Linked DNA regions of Homo sapiens: region 1 is linked to region 2. Evidence: promoter capture Hi-C in 16 types of primary human blood cells and fetal thymus (Javierre and others, 2016). All regions are on one chromosome and are shown on one strand. Each heading gives the region's core, a stretch centred on a gene start or on the middle of the fragment in contact. The rest is flanking DNA. Distances are from core to core; before and after follow the strand shown.

Region 1 (5,812 bases), core at 2,379-4,878, 630 kb before region 2:
GGTGCAGTCGGGCAGGCTTCAGAAGAGCCCCCAGCTCTCCCAGAGGTGGCCTTAGGTCACTCTCAAAAAGAATAACCAATGTGTCAATGGCACTTGTAGTTATTTTCTAATTTAAATTTATTAACAGATTTTGCAGATGGGCTTCCACTGAAATAAGCCTTTGAGAAAAAGAAAAACTTTTTTTTTCAACAGGATTAGAATACCAAGAAATAGGAAGTAAAGCCATGCCGTCCACCCAGCTAAAAACTTTGAAAACTTGATATTTTATCTAAGGCAAATGTTTGCATAACTTTAGGTCATGCCATTATTTAAAGTCAATTTCAGTTAACAATTTCATTGCAACTGAATCTATCTTGTATAAGAAAACTAAGATACATCCCTGATAATCTACCTCTCCCCTCCTATACTCCATCCGTCAGCAAATCCTACTGGTTTTTACCTTCCAAATTTTCCTTGAATCTGTCCTCTTCTATCTCCTCCGTCACCACCCTAGTCTAGGCTGCCTTCACCTGGGGAGTGAGGGTCGAGGGACTACTGACCTAGTCTTCTTGTGGTTTACCCATATCCCCTTTATCGCCTCTCTAATCTCAACACAACAGGCAGAGTGGCTTTTCCAAAATATAATGTGACCGTGTCACTTCCCAGCCTAAAGCACTTAAACACCTTCCCATTCTCTTAGACAAAACCTCCTAACTAACCAAGCCCCGAATGGCCAGGCGCCTTGCCCACTTCTTCATCTCTTCTCACTACTCAGACCAATTCTGTTCTGCTCTCTCTGCTCCAGCCAAACTGGCCTCTTTTATTCCCTATTTACCAGCTTCCTGGCCTCCACAGAGCTTTTGCTCATGCTTTGCTCTGTGCCTGGAAAGTTCTTCTAACCCCTATTCTTCTGAGAACAGCTGTAGTCTCCACCTCTGAAAAGCACCTTCTGACCTCCCTATGGTGGTCCCTTACTCCTATCACATTGCATGAAACTGTAATCGGGTGGTTATTTTGGTGAATTTTTTACTATCGGCTACGTAAGCCCAGGGTTTGGTTTTGTTTGCTTCATGATTTGTATTTCCACATTTGTTAAATACATATTTGTTCATAAATGAGAATGATGGATGCTAGAAGTTGAAGTAAATTTGGCATAAAGTCAGAGAAAGAGAAAATGTCACAATCTGACAGTTGGAGTCAGAATGTAGAAACTTCAGTTATATTAAAACTGATTTTATATCGTTTTAGGCTGAGTTGTCTTAGGATGCTTTGGGTAACCTTTAAAACTGAGTTCTCAAAGAGCCTTGTATAAACACCTGAATTAATAATGATAAGCCATGGGGTGGCCCACATAAAACTAATAACATTGGTTGCTTTAAGAGAGGAAGACTGAGCCAGGCACAGTGGCTCATACCTGTAATCCAAGCACTTTGGGAGGCCAAGGCCCGCAGATCATTTGAGCTCAGGAGTTTGAGACTAACCTGGGCAACTTGGTGAGACCCTGTCTCTACATAAAATACAAGCAAAATTAGCCAGGCGTGGTGGCGGGCACCTGTACTCCCAGCTATTTGGGAGGCTGAGGTGGGAGGATTGCTTGAGCTCAGGAGGTTGAGGCTGCAGTGAGCCATGATCATGCCACTGCATTCCAGCCTGGATGACAGAGCAAGATCTTGTCTCAAAGAGAGAGAGAGAGAGAGAGAGAAATGAAGACTGGTGACTGGTGGCTACTGGTGGGAAGGAGATTTTTACTAAATGCCCAAAAGGTTTAAAATTGTAACTTTTTTATTTCAAAGTCTGTGAAGATAAATGACACAAAAGAGCACATACCTTCCCATTTATTTGAAATTCTAGAAAGGGGAAAATTAATCTGTGGTGAAAAAATCATAGCAGTGGTTCCCTCTGGCAGGGGATTGACTGGGAAGTTACATGAGAGAAATTTCTGGGTGGTAAAAATGGTCTCTGTCTTGATAGGGATATGAGTTATATAAGTGTATTCATTTGTCAAAAAACATACAGTTAACATTTCAATGAATGTAAATTTTACCTTAAAAACTATACGAATAAATGCAAATTTAAAATCTGCTAGCTAACACCTAGTTGAGTACTCAGTGTCTATGGGCATTGGCCGAGGCTATACATACACGATTTTCTTTAGTCCTCATACCGTCCTCATGGGGTAGGTATTATTATCATAACCCCCTTGCATATGAAGAAGCCAAAATGCAGTAAATACCAAATAACTTGCCTCGATTTATACCCCTGGAAAATGCGGGAAGAGCTTTAAACACCATCAGTCAAATGCCAGAAGTTGTTAAACATTAGACTCTATAGCACTTCTCTGAAATTATAGTATTTTTGGTATATGTATATATATATATATATATATCATCTACTAGATCAAGAGCTTCACAATGATTGAAATCATAGTTTGTCTTTTTGTTTGAGGTTTATGTTTTTATTTTACTTCATTATTTTAAAGACTGAGTCTCGGCCGGGCACGGTGGCTCATGCCTGTAATCCCAACACTTTGGGAGGCCAAGGTGGGTGGATCACTTGAGGTCAGGAGTTCGAGACCAGCCTGGCCAACATGGTGAAACCCCATCTCTACTAAAAATACAAAATTAGCCAGGTGTGGTGGCACGTGCCTGTAATCCCAGTTACTCAGGAGGCTAAGGCAGGAGAATCGCTTGAACCTGGGAGGTGGAGGTTGCAGTGAGCCAAAATTGTGCCACTGCACTCCAGCCTGGCCGACAGAGTGAGACTCCATCTCAGAGAAAAAAAAAAAAAAGACTGAGTCTCACTATGCTGCCCAGGCTGGACTTGGACTCCTTCATTCAAGCCATCCTCCTGCCTAGGCTTCACCTGGGACTACAGGCCCAATATTTTTGTCTTAAGTTTCTAAGCAGTCCCAAGACTTTGCACAGTAGCTGTTCAATGTATTTTGAGTGAATGATTAAAAACAAGCTTGATGTCGATTTTATTGGTACAATTTATATTTACATATGTAATATTTATATGCTTTTATATATTTATGTGTGCATGTATATAATTGGTACTAACTTAGCACTGCTGTGCCTAAGTGCCTGAGATGCATCTCAAATGAATAGGCCTGAGGAGAGAAGCTTGTGTCATTAGCTCTGACCCTGCAGCACTAATCCTGGTTTACCCCTTTCTTTCAGTCTCCCTGAGCACAATTTATTTGCTGAAAGGCCACATCTCACTATGGAGTGAGGATCAAGAAGTAAAGGTCTGAAAGAGAGAAGCTGCGGGGCTGGGGAGACTGTTGGTCGGAGAGGCGTCGGGGGCCCAAGGAAAAGGGAGGATTGTGGGGAGGAATCGGCGTAGAGATGAGAGGAGCAGCAGAGACAGAGTCTCACGCAGAGGTGTGCCCAGACACCCTGAACCAAGTTACTTAACCTCGTCCACCACCGTGGCACCCGTGGGGTCCGTGGGCCCGTCGGTCTTCCAGGAGGGATTCTGTGTCCCTGTTATTGTGTGTCAACATGTGTTAGCCTGATATTTATATTTTTAATGAGAGAAAACGAACTCTGGAATTTGCGAACTGTTTTTTCGTTTTGCTTTATACCTCTTGGACACTCCTTCCGAAGGATTGGGTCTCAAGGGCAGTGGGGTGTGACTACGGTAGACAGGGCTGATTAATTTTCATCCAAAACTCTTTGGCGGATTCCCCTGCTCTCCGCTTCTCCGGTCTAACAGTAGTTTAAAATAGAAGATCAGCAACATTTGGAGAGTTTTTTTCTTTGCATTTTAATGATAAACTTGATTTATTCCATTCCAAAAGTTTTCTTATTCTGAGGTTGTCTTTCTATATTTTGAGTATAAAACAATGGCCATACTATGTTGGAACCACCAAGGTTCTTCTCTTCACTTGTTCATTTGTAATGTCTCTTTATAATCTGAGAATTTCCTGAGCAAACTGGGAACTGTTATACATAATTCCTTGTTTTTCAACATTCTTTGTAAACAGGAATCAGGATTGGGGATGGGGAGGGAGGGAGGAGTAGGAGTCCTGATTTGTGGAACAGAAAATCATGGATTACTTATGTGATGGAGCAAAGGGTTTAAAAACTCTTAGCATCCCCAGATTTCCCCTTTTACTGTTTGCTGAAGAAAATTCTGTCTTTGACTCCCTTCCTTACCCTCTCCGGGCCTGTGAGAAGCTTCCTCCCTATCCAGTTTATTTCCTCCTCTGCTCCCCGACCCACCCCCCACAGCCCCCTCCTCTTTTTCAGTGAAGCCGCTGGAGGAAAGTCGGGTTTGGGAGAAGACCCACACAGGCAAGGACAGCAGGAGAACACTGACATAGTTACACTCTTGTCACCAGCACTTTTATTAAGACGTGAAAAGACAAAGACAACAGAGGAGAGCAGAGAATAATATCTCTGTTTCAGCTATTCCAGGATGTTATGCCAATTATCCAGAGTCCTTGATCTGATGTAGTAAAGAGCTAGGGACATTTTCCCTGAAGGCTTTGATTGCTGGCAAAATCTCATTAAACGTGTATACATTCATAGGTTGGCCATAGGATGGATAAAAGAAGAGCCTCTGGCCTACATCTGCCACGATACATGTGCAAAAATGCTCTCTGCAGCATTATTTTTCATTGTAAAATAGCAGAACAAATTTATTATTCAATAATTATAAAATGGTCAAATGTATGTGACTATATTTGGACAATGAAAAATGCAGCTGTTAAAAGCAGACAATACTGATGATTCAGATGATGTTACTGATGAAAATAATAACAGATGACAATTATTGAGCATTTATGGCATTCTTACAGGCATTACCTTATTTAAAGTTCAGAACTACCAAGGAAAAGAGTAACTTGTGGCAGGCGTGAGAGGTTCCGAGGCACAAAAGGAAGATAGGCATTCAAGGAACACCAGGATAGAAGACCCAGAGTAGGAGAAGAGAGAGGAAGAGGAGTCCGCCAGATGGGATGCTGGAAACCGCGGGATAGCTCGGTGGAGAGAGGGCGCTCCTGCTCCGCAAGCCTCCCTACGACGGCAGGCCTACCCGGTCCTGCTCCTGCCGGCTCTGGGCATCTGGTTTCTGCCGCTCCATCTCCAGGGAGATGGTGGCCAGGCTGTGCCGTGTACCCATCAACTTCTCTGACAGCGCCATCTTCTCAGACTCCTTCAGAGACAAGGCCTGGGCAGAGGCAGGGGACAAAGGGCTTGGGGGATGGGCTGGTCCTGGGGGCATGCTCAGGCTTCTTGCTGCCTAGGAAATGTGCCCACTGGGGGCTTAGAGGCCTGAGTGTGCCACTGCAGGTGGACCCAGGGCAGACATGCAGCCCTGGAAAAGGGCACAACGGCAGTCACAAGAATCCCGGACGTGGATACCACTCATAGAGCTCACTAACCCGCCACAGCACCCTGACTGCAGAGTCTTTCTTTCTACCCATCTTACAGATGAGGAAACTGAGGCTCAAGGAGGTAAAGTGACTCGCCCAGGTACACAGCTGGTGAGGAGAGGAGATGGGCACAGTCTGCCCTGTCTCCGTTACATTATAGGAAAGTTAGGGATTTGTTATTTGGGGGGACACGTCAGCTGATGCCTGTGGGCATCGTGGGGACTGCTCAGAAGGCAGCCATGAGGATCCATGCCCAGCGTGGGGTGGGACGAGGCATGGGAGAATATGGAACAGCTTTCCTGGTGTCACGACTGTCACTGTCACTCAGTAAGTGCTCACTGTGTGCCAGGCATGGAGCACAGCAAAGCCTCACGAACCCCCTTCTAATCCTCCCCTCCTGCAGGTAAGGAAACTGAGGCCCCCAAGAGGGCAGTGGCCTGCCCCAGGGCTCCT
Region 2 (5,300 bases), core at 1,224-3,723:
TTTTTTACGGAGCTGGGGTTTTGCTATGTTACCCAGGCTGGTCTCAAACTCCTGGGCTCAAGCGATCCTCCCATCTTGGCCTCCCAAAGTGCTGGGATTACAGGTGTGAGCTACTGTGCCTGGCCCAATTCCCTTCCATTTTTGTGTCTGAAGCTTCTAAGTTACCTGGCTTCAGTGGTCTGATTTTGGATGCCTGAAATCATCACCCTCTCATCCTACACATTTGCTGCTGCCTCAAATTACACCGTTTGATACTCACTCACTTTATTTTAGCTTTTGTTGTGGAGTAAGAGGGCAAAAAGTTGCTGCCTATTAGTCATTGACACTTTAGTCTGAATTAACCACAAACCTGTTTCTAAAAGTTGGTATTAACAGAGGAGAAGTGAAGGCATGAGTCTCCTTCCAAAGACATATACAGTTCTCCGAGAAAGAGGCAGGTAGTGGGCCAGCACCCCAGGGAAAGCCCCTACTTTCTGCATCTATTCCCCATCTGTGCTCACAAGAAGGCTAGGGAGACTAAGGCTTCCTCCTGAGCTCGAACTCTTACCCAGGGCTCCCAAGGCTGACTCAGCCATCAAGCCATTCCACAGCTGAAAAAAGTGAAGCTGTCCCTTGACCCAGAAGCCCAGCAGTTCTCCTTGAAAAGAACATCTTTCCCAAAAACTGAGACATGGGAATGACAATCTCAGGGTCCTGTTGAGGCCCTTGAACTGGTGCAGATGTCCCAGCTGGAGATGCTGGGGAGCGGGTCCTGGTCCCCATCCTGTCTCAGGCTGTCAGCACTGCCAGGGAGAAGGGAGGAAACCTCTATTCAGCACCTCCTGAGCCTCCGCCAGGCAGGGTGCGTCTTCACTATTATCTCCGCCAGGGCCAGTGATTAGCTGCATTTTCTACAGATGAGGAAACCGAGTCTCCAAGAGGGGGGACACTGACACCCAAGGCCCTATAGTGGGTGCACGGTGGAGCCTGCCTCTGAACCCAAGACTTCTCTCCCCAGAGCCCTTGCTCCTGCTCTTCCAGGAGCCTGAATGCCCCTCTGACTTCGGTTTCCCACCTGACGACTGAGCTTTCCTACTCTGACATGCCAAGCTCCCCCTGGCTGGAGAGAGTTCTCACCCTCATCATTTACCGCTTTCAGAGGTTTTTGGGACCTAATAACAGCAACAATAGTAATACAATAACGCCAAGCTCCATACCAGAGCTCTACCAACGCTGGCCCCTGAGGCCTCACAGCAACCATTTTTCAGACGAGAAAAGTGAGGCACGAACAATTAAGAAAGTTGCCCGGCCGGGCATGGTGGCTCACGCCTGTAATCCCAGTACTTTGGGAGGCCAAGTCGGGTGGATCAAGAGGTCAGGAGATCGAGACCATCCTGACTAACACGGTGAAACCCCGCCTCTATTAAAAATACAAAAAATTAGCCGGGAGCCGTGGCAGGCGCCTGTAGTCCCAGCTACTCGGGAGGCTGAGGCAGGAGAATGGCGTGAACCCGGGAAGTGGAGCTTGCAGTGAGCCGAGATCACGCCACTGCACTCTAGCCTGGGTGACAGAGCGAAACTCTGTCTCAAAAAAAAAAAAAAAAAGAAACTTGCCCAAGGTCGCCCATCCAGGAAGCAGCTGAGGCAGGGCTGAAACCCAGGTCTGGCTCTAAAATCCATTAAAAAAAAAAAGTTGGTGTTTCTCAAAGGGCACCAAAATGCTTTGGGGGTGCTTATTAAAAAATCCAGAGGGCCGGGTGCTGTGGCTCATGCCTGTAATCCCAGCACTTTGGGAGGCCGAGGTAGGTGGATCACCTGAGGTCTGGAGTTCAAGACCAGCCTGACCAACATGGAAAAACCCCGTCTCTACTAAAAATACAAAATTAGCCGGAAGTGGTGGCACACGCCTATAATCCCAGCTACTCGGGAGGCTGAGGCAGGAGAATTGCTTGAACCTGGGAGGCGAAGGTTGCGGTGAGCCGAGATCGCACCATTGCATTCCAGCCTGGGCAACAAGAGTGAAACTCCGTCTCAAAAAAAAAAAAAAAAATCCAGAGGCCAGGCTGCACCCCTAACCTGCTGGATCAGAGTGGACAACAGACCTGGGAATCCGCATTTTCACCAGCTTCCCCAGCAGAGTAAGAAAGCTCCCCATTATAGTCTCTGAAAATGCAGAAAATGGAGGTGAGGAAGCAAGAAGCGTCCGAGATCAATATCATATATCTCTGCACCCCCTCAACAGCACCTGCCCCCAACAGTTCCTGGTGCCTAGCCAGGTACCTGTGGGGACTTGCTTCCCAAGAAATTAACTTCCTGGGTGCCGGGGTCGGGACAACAGGTTCGTATACAAATACTGGGTCCCTTCCAGCCAATCCTGAGCTCTCAGCTCTGGGAAGGGGCTGGGCTTTCATGACTGGAGCCAATGAATTGGCACCCTGGGCTGGAGGGGTGGGGCCAGGGGCTTTTAAACCTCATCCTAAGGGGCCTCAGGGGCAGTGTTGGGGTTGGCGGCCACAGCTAAGTCCAACACCAGCATGTCGCTGCAGAGAATCGTGCGTGTGTCCCTGGAGCATCCCACCAGCGCGGTGTGTGTGGCTGGCGTGGAGACCCTCGTGGACATTTATGGGTAAGAGTCAGAGGCCTAGTGGTTTGCAGGCCCTTGGTGCTGATGCCCTTGGACCTTCCTCCCTGCAGGCTGGGCAGGGCTTCTTCAGGGCCCACTCCCCAGCCTTGGCCTCGGAACAGCAGCCAATCAGGGAAGCTTGGGTCCTCCTCTTGCTCTACTGAGTTTCCTGAAGACCTTAGCCAGGGAATTTGAAGTTTGGGAGGCTGAGCCAGGTAGAAGAGGCTTCAGTGACTGAGCTCCAGACCGGGGGCTTGGAGGGGGCTGGTGCCGCGAAGAGATGGCACTTTTCTATGTCCAAGGGATGCTGCAGGTTGGGCTGAGGATCTGTCTGGGGCACACAAGAATAGGAACAGGCAGATATCCCCAGCCCCATCCTGAGCCTATGAGCCTAGAAACAGAGCATGAATCATTTTTAAAAAATAAGTTAATACATAGCACTTACCATGTGCCAGGCACTATTCTAAGAGCTTCACAAGTCTCTTGAGTTAAGTTTTGAACTTTAATCTTGAATTTAACCCTTACAACAACCCTGTGAGCTAGGCTTATTATTAGCATCATCTCATCAGACAAATGAGAAAACCGAGGCAGAGAGGGCAAGCCATTTGCTCAAGTCACACAGTTACTAAGTGGCAAAGCCAGGGTTTAAACCCGCTTGTGGTCTTACTCAGGAGTCTTATGGTTTTAGCTGCTCTGATACTTGGAAAATAAAGATTTCCAACCTGGTTTCCTCTAGACACTCAATGCCCATGCATTATGCTCCTACTGTGTGCCAGGTCATGCCTTTGAGGCCCATGGTAGAGGGAGGTAAGGCCTTATCTTCTCTCTCTTAGGAAGAAAAGAGGGTTAGGGTAGGGTTTTAAGAGCTGGGCTCTGGGGACCACCAGGGAGCTGGCTTCTTAGGCTTTTGGGGAGAATCCAGGGTCCTGGCTTGGAGGTAATCAGGATACTGGGAGGGGAGGGTGCAGAACTGTGGGACAGCTCTCACCTCTCAAGTCTCCCAGCCCTCTCCTCAGGCCAGGTTTCTCAACCTCAGCACTGCTGTCACGATACCTCTTTGTCATGGGGGCCACCCTGTGCACTGTAGGATGGAGAGCAGCATTCTGGGCCTCTCTTTGCTAGATACCAGCAGCACACTCCCGAGTTGTGACAACCAAAAATGTCCCCAGACATTGCCAAATGTGCCCTGGGGTGGGAAGAAAATAGCCCACCCATTGAGAACGAGTCTCCAAGACTAAGACTCGAAAAATCAGGGCGAACTTAGTCGGGAGCAGCGATGGGGTTGATCCAGGGCATTGGATGAGAGGGGGTGAGGAGCTGGTCATGGGAGGGAACCAAGTCGGGAGCAGAGCCAGCCCAGGAAATAAATCCTGGTATTGGTGGGTGGGCAGTAGGAGGAGGAAGGGGATTCAGTGGTTCTTGAAGGAAGGGGCAGCCACGGAGGCTGTGCCAAGGAGGTAATGAGGAAGGAGGGGTATCTGCCACTTGGCACCACTGCCTGCCTGCCATGGGGTGACTGGGCTGCGTGCCATGGGGTGACTCACCTGCCCCTGCTGCCTCGTGCCCGTTGGGCAGATGTGTCTCCGGTTTGACCTGTCCCAGGAAGCCTGGGCCTGGCTCCTCCCCCGCAGAGCTTCCTTAGAGGATAGAGGATGGATTGGGGCAATAAGAGATAAAGGCCATAGCTTCCTGGAGTCACCTGAGCCACACTGGAGGTTTGCAGAGAAGGCCATCGGTGGGACAGCCACAGGGTGGGGGATGGAAGCTCTGATACCTTCAAATGAGGGATTCTTGGGCCCTGGTGGCCAAACCCCCCAGGGGTGGGAGTGGAGAGCTCCTAGTTCGTTCATTCACATATTCTTCAAGTATTTCTTTTGGGTCTAGTGTGTGTACCATTCAGAGCCTTGAAGGATGAGCACAGGCTCTGGGGACACATACAGGGGAGAACAAGCAGCTCCTCCTCTCTGAGAAGCCAGCAGAGGCTGGACAACCTTCTTACAAGGGTGCCACAGAAAGGACTCCTTTCTGGGAAGGGGAGCAGGACTGAGTTAGTTCTGAGGTCCCTCCCGGCTTGGAGGTGCCATGATGTAACAATCCTGGGTCCTCAGCCTGCGGGCCAACAAGAGAAAGGGCAGTAGGTGTTGTGGCTCAGTCCTGGCTCTGCAACTTCCCAGCTCTCTGACCGTGGGAAACTCCTTTAACTTCTCTGAGTCTCTGTTTCCTCACCTGTTGCCTGGGGATGATAATAATATCAGCAATGGCACTGAATGCCACTCCCCAGCAGTGCCTGTAAGCGCTTTCCATATGTTAACTAATTCTCACAAAATTCTCAAGTGGGCACTGTCATCATCGTCATTTTATAGATAAGAAAACAAAGGCACAGAGAGGTTAAACAACTTGTCCAAGGTCACATGGCCAGTGAGTGGCAGAGCCAGGATGTAACCCAGTTTGGCCTTACTTCAAAGGGCAGTTAGGGGCATTGAATGAGATTGTGTGTGCAAAGCATGTAACTAATACTGATTTGTGGTGAACATTCAGTTATGTTAACTGTCACCATTATCATCATCATCAGTTTAAGGCTTTGTCCTGGGCCTGTGGACAGCCTCAAGCATCCCCAAACCTGCCATATGCAGGATGTCTGGGGAACAGTCTCTGGACCGTATTGGGAGAAGGAGTTGAGAAAAGAGAAATTTACATC

What was found. The method cuts DNA at HindIII sites, captures the fragments that hold promoters and counts their contacts. A CHiCAGO score of 5 or more calls a contact.
Region 1: a contact is called between a fragment that was not itself captured here and the fragment with the promoter of PADI3 in region 2, in 1 of 17 cell types (neutrophils). The highest score is 6.1, in neutrophils.

What each region holds. Positions count from the first base shown.
Region 1 is chr1:16,613,950-16,619,761 of GRCh38, forward strand. It overlaps the pseudogene CROCCP2. Among named protein-coding and RNA genes, the nearest start is that of NBPF1, 3.3 kb to the left of the region's middle. RefSeq lists enhancers at 1-416, 4,604-5,272, 5,273-5,812. The HindIII fragment of the contact is 1,059 bases long and covers 3,100-4,158 here.
Region 2 is chr1:17,246,625-17,251,924 of GRCh38, forward strand. It overlaps PADI3 (peptidyl arginine deiminase 3), which reads left to right and starts at 2,474. Exons shown (of 16, transcript NM_016233.2): 1 at 2,474-2,605. The coding sequence starts at 2,514. The HindIII fragment of the contact is 2,587 bases long and covers 152-2,738 here.